2 separate regions of the Homo sapiens genome follow, and region 1 is linked to region 2. Evidence: promoter capture Hi-C in 16 types of primary human blood cells and fetal thymus (Javierre and others, 2016). All regions are on one chromosome and are shown on one strand. The core of a region is centred on a gene start or on the middle of the fragment in contact, and the rest is flanking DNA. Distances in the headings are between cores, read along the strand shown. Region 1 overlaps PATJ (PATJ crumbs cell polarity complex component). Region 2 holds the start of C1orf87 (chromosome 1 open reading frame 87).

Evidence for each region. Contacts are between HindIII fragments. The CHiCAGO score rates a contact against its expected background, and 5 or more counts as called.
Region 1: a fragment that was not itself captured here is called in contact with the fragment with the promoter of C1orf87 in region 2 in 1 of 17 cell types (M0 macrophages); the score reaches 5.8 in M0 macrophages.

Annotation. Positions count from the first base shown.
Region 1 is chr1:62,078,860-62,081,559 of GRCh38, forward strand. It overlaps PATJ (PATJ crumbs cell polarity complex component), which reads left to right. Exons shown (of 44, transcript NM_001350145.3): 32 at 591-708. Among named protein-coding and RNA genes, the nearest start is that of MIR3116-2, 1.4 kb to the left of the region's middle. The HindIII fragment of the contact is 4,785 bases long and covers 1-2,700 here.
Region 2 is chr1:60,072,400-60,075,099 of GRCh38, forward strand. It overlaps C1orf87 (chromosome 1 open reading frame 87), which reads right to left and starts at 1,371. Exons shown (of 12, transcript NM_152377.3): 1 at 1,291-1,371; 2 at 138-271. The coding sequence starts at 244. The HindIII fragment of the contact is 5,384 bases long and covers 1-2,700 here.

The DNA.
Region 1 (2,700 bases), core at 69-2,568, 2.0 Mb after region 2:
GAGCTATGCTTCCTTTATGTGAATTAAATGTCACTGATGTAGCTGGCATTTAGTAGGCTTTCAGTAGGTGTTGGTTTTCTTTGTCTGCCCCTCATTTTGCTTAATTAACCTACCAAATGCATCTTTGACTCTAGTGTGTCCAGAAGAAATGGACAGTGTTGATGCTCTAAACATCCCCAGCGTAGATTGTTTTTCAATGTGCACAACACAGATAAGTCACTTCAAAGTCCATAGATAAAGGGGCTTCTTGCTGATTTCATCAGAATGAGTAGAAATTGCAAGATAATTTTTGTTTTGCCTCCCACCCCCAGCTTCATGTACAGATCACACTGACAGAGTATCTTCAGCTTTTATCTTTCCTCCCTTCCTTGATCTGCCCTTCATCAAAGCATTTTAGTTGTAAAGTTAAATAGGGAAGAATGAGGAACGAGGCATAAATCATCCTAACTTCTTGCCACCCTCCAACCTTATATTCTCAAAAGACATCATTGGACTGCACCATTGTTTTGGTAACAATACACCAGTTTTAAAGTATTTTCTTGTTACCTTTCTCCTTTTTGATATTCATCTAATTTTCCTTTCTTTTGTAGGCTGTCAGCCAGATGAAACAGCAAAAATATCCAACAAAAGTCTCCTTCAGTTCACAAGAGATACCATTAGCACCAGCTTCATCATACCATTCAACAGATGCAGACTTCACAGGCTATGGTATGATTCTTTCTCTCAGCAGATCTGGCTCATTAAGCCTTAGAGAAGGCAAGGGATCATAATGTCCTAAAACGAGAACTGGACCAGGAGGCAGAAGTCTGACTCTGGATACTTCCTCCGCTTCCTTAGCTTTGGGGCTTGGATAGGTCACTTCATTTCCTACATCATTTTTCCTCCTCTCTGCCATCGCCATTGCCTGTTGCTTTTTGAATATAAGAGCACTAGAACAGAACAGGACCTCAGTAGGTCAGGAGTTCAAGACCAGCCTGGCCAACATGGTGAAACCCTGTCTCTACTAAAAATACGAAAAATTAGCCAGGCATGGTGGCGCATGCCTGTAATCCCAGCTACTCGGGAGGCTGAGGCAGGAGAATCGCCTGAACCCAGGAGGCAGAAGTTGCAGTAAGCTGAGATTGCACCACTGCACTCCAGCCTGGGTGACAGAGTGAGACTCTGTCTCAAAAAAAAAAAAAAGGAAAAGAAAAGGACCTCAGTAAATGTTATTTGAATCTGAGGCTTCTGTATTATTCTTCTCTAATCTCTACAAAAGATTATATTTAGGTCTTGAGTAATATCTCTTTAAAAATCCTATCAAACCCAATTTTTAGCCCTGCAAATGTTGCTTTAAGCTGTTTGAAGAATGTTGATTTTCAATGCTTAAAGAAATTGGCATGCACATTCTGTCTTTAAATTCCTGGCTTGAATTATGCTGACTGGGGGTTGAAAATAGAACTTTATAAAGAATAATAGGTATTTCTACTTGCTTTTTTTTCTTTTTTTTTGAGACAGAGTCTCATTCTGTCACCCAGGCTGGAGGGCAGGGGGCTGATCTCAGCTCACTGCAACCTCTGCCTCCTGGGTTCAAGTGATTCTCCTGCCTCGGCCTCCTGAGTAGCTGGGATTACAGGTGCTCACCACCATGCCCGGCTAATTTTTACATTTTTAGTAGAGATGGGGTTTCACCATGTTGGCCAGGCTGGTCTCAAACTCTTGACCTCAAGTGATCTGCCTGCCTCGGCCTCCAAAAGTGCTGGGATTACAGACGTGAGCCACTGTGCCCAGCCCTACTTTGCTTTTGTGCAGTATACATCAGTAAAAAATAAAACTCTTTAAAAGACAGTACTCACCAATGGCAAAGCATAACCCTGCATTAATTTAGCAGTTCTGAAATCTTTGTGGTATTTGCCTTTTATATATTTTTTCATAAATATTAACTTCATAAAGTTCATCAAGCAGGTACTATTTTAAAGCATTGTAGATGTACTAAAACATTTGATGCATGTGGTCAGAAAACTATGGCGCATGGGTCAAATCTGGCCTACCAGCTAGTTGTGTATGGTCTACAAGCTAAAAAAGGTGTTCACTTTTTAAAGGTTGAAAAAACACCTAAGAAAATTTTATTAAAATATTCTATGAAATTCATATTTCAGTGTCCACAAATACAGGTTTATAGACACTCATTTGTTTCTGTATTGTCAGTGGCTTTTTTCACACTATAATGATGGAGTTAAGTAGTCACAACAGAGACAGTCTGGCCTGTAATGCCCTATTAAAATATGTATACTTGGCACTTTACCAACAATGCATGCTGACTATGGAGGTAGACAAGTTGAGTTTTGGTAATATATATCACATATTTATACTTAGATGACAGAAATTCAGCATCCTTCCTGGTTTTCATTCTCATGGTTAAATAATAAATAAACAAATAAATAAATAAATGAAGTTCATCATCCTACAGTTGAATCTATAGAAATTTTATTCATTTACTCATCTACTTACCAAGCATTTATTGAGGACTTGGTATGAGCTGGGTTTGGGGCTGGATTCCATGAGAGAAGTAAATAAAAAGATTGACTCAGGACTGGCTAGGGTGAGGCAAACGTGGAGGAGGGAAAAGAAATGCCATCTCCAGGATGTCTCACCAGGTTTTTTTCTCTCTTCTCACTCAGGAGACTACGCTAGTCATTTACAAAGGCAGTATAAACTTTT
Region 2 (2,700 bases), core at 121-2,620:
TTACCTCTACTGTTGCATCTTAATGACTTCGTTTTCCATGGATGGCATTTTTTAAGTTTAAATTTCTGGGTGAAAACAAAACAATAAAACTTCATTATCATCCAAGCAACATAGATATTTTTCAAATATGGACTTACATCTTTGGCTTCTCCACGAGGTATTGAAAGTGTTTACTTCCAATGATTTTCACCATGATCTCAGGCATTGCATCTGATCCACGGGGAGTCTTCCAGGCTGAAGACATGATTCCTTTCAAAATCCCTTCAGATCCCTAGGGGTGAAAATAAGTAAATTGTTCCTCTTGATTTTCCATTAGGGAACTGCATCATCCTTGCCAATAACAACAAGCAATAATAATAGCAGGACAAAGTGTTTCACCTATATTACCTCACTTAACACTCCTAACAAAGGCATGAGAAAGATATTTTTAACTACTATTATCATTTTTGTTTTACTGTTGAGGAAACAAGCAAAATGTAGCTATATGACTTACTCACATCACATCACATCACCAGTAATTAGCCGACTTGGGAATCTCACCTAAGAGGTCTGTACAGCAGATCTACTGAATCATTAGGTGACTCTACCTTCCTGTACTACAAGACATAGGATGGAATTCCAGTGAGGTCAGAGCAGAAACAAGGGCATTAGTGGGACATATGAAGAATCCATATTCAGTTCTGATGTTTAGTTTCCCCATTTATGAGATCAGGGTAATTCTAGGTCTGTTCTCAGGGACTTGAGGGTGAATCCAAGGAGATAATGCATCTGAAGGGAGACTGTACACAAGACAGACAGACTTTTGTTGTTATCACTGATCTCTTTCTACAACAATACAATGAATCTGAAATTGAACTCCTGCACAAGGTGTTTAAACAGAGTGATGCCAAGGGAAAATCAGAAGTTCAGTAAATCTGGCCACAGCTGAACACTCCCTTTTAGAACCACCCAGAGGCTGAAAGGCCTTTAGAAATCATTCTACTCCAAAGGCTCCTTCACAGATTGGAAAACTAAGGCCCAGAGAGGGTGTGTTATTTGACAAGGGTCACAGAGGAATGAAGGACGGGACTGTTTCCAGTACTTGGGTCTGATGTCTAGGCCAGGGTTCTTCCCAAAAGTCCAATACTAAAGACCTGTGCTAGGGCAGCCCCTCATCCCGGGGACCTGCAGCCTCTTTGCACCTGTCTGGAATCTTCCAGACCCGGAACTCGTGATCCTCAAATCCCCTCCCTGCCCAGCAGCTGCGTGTCGGCCCTGATTGCCCGGAGAGAACAGAGTCGGGGGGCTTACCGCTAGGGCAGCGTCCCCACCCTGGCAGCTCAGAGGTGCGCGGTCCGTGCTTCTCCCCAGGAAGCTGACACTCTCAGACCCGGGGACGGGACGGGGCGTGGGGACCGAGCCCAGGAATCCGGCCAATCACAGGGCCCGCATCGCGGGCGGCGCCTGTTCCGCCCTGGTCGCTAAGGACGCTGAAGGCTGTTTCTGGGCGGGGACCAGGTTTTTCTCCACTGCCTAGGCAATGGACCCAGGCTCTGGCTGCCAACGGGTGAAGAGCCTAGGTGTTTTTGATCTGTGCCTTCTCTGTTCCTCAGAGATATGCGGGCGTCCTTCTAGAAGCCCATCTCGCTCACCTGTGTGGTCACCCTTGTCCCGCCCTTCCTCCGAAGGCTTCATTTCCCTTTGTGAGTTTGCACATAGTTGAGATTCCAACACAGTAGGTTCAAATCCAGACGTCTCCACTGTATGGCTTGAGTAAATCCCTTCTTTTCCCTGAGATTGTTTCCTCATCTGTGAAACGGGGCAAAATAATAACACTGTCCTAACTGCGATTTGGTGACTAAATTAAATAAGAATATCGGCCGGGCTCAGTGGTTCACCCCTGTAATCCCAGCACTTTGTTAGGCCGAGGTGGGCAGATCACGAGGTCAGGAGATTGAGACCATCCTGGCTAACATGGTGAAACCCCGTCTCTACTAAAAATACAAAAAATTAGCCGGTCGTGGTGGTGCGCGCCTGTAATCCCAGCTACTCAGGAGGCTGAGGCAGGAGAATTGCTTGAACTTGGGAGGTGGACCTTGCAGTGAGCCAGGATGGTACTACTGCACTCCAGCCTGGGCAACAGAGCGAGACTCCATATCAAACAAACAAAGAAACAAAAAAACCAGAATATTATAGATTGATAATAATAACGTTGAGTACTGTCTCTATGCCAGATCCCTATGACAAGCTGGATAACTCTCACCTCACAAGTTAATAGTTATAAACAAAATAGTTTTACTTTATTTTAAAGAGAAAAGAAACAAGTTGGGGTATTGATAAACTACTCCAAATCCTGCAAAAGCAAGTACAGAGCTAAGATTAGAATATAGATCTGCATATCCTACATTTCCAGACAGTTGTTATTATGCTAAAAGAAACTTCAGCTGATGCAGGCAAAGACACTTTAGATTGATTCCCAAACGGTATTGTTATTTGCATCAACATAGGCAGCAGCAGCTCCAGCATCTGTTCCCCTGTCTCCTAACCTCTAGCTGTACTGTGCTTTACAGGTGAATATATCACCCACTGGCACATGCAGCCAGAGGTGGACAGCACACTCAGCTCCCCTCCAGGGGCTCACTCTCTAGAGGGTGAGACACACAGCCACATTCTATGATATAGAAAGTGTTAAGGGAGCAGAGAAGCGGGGACAGCTCCCTT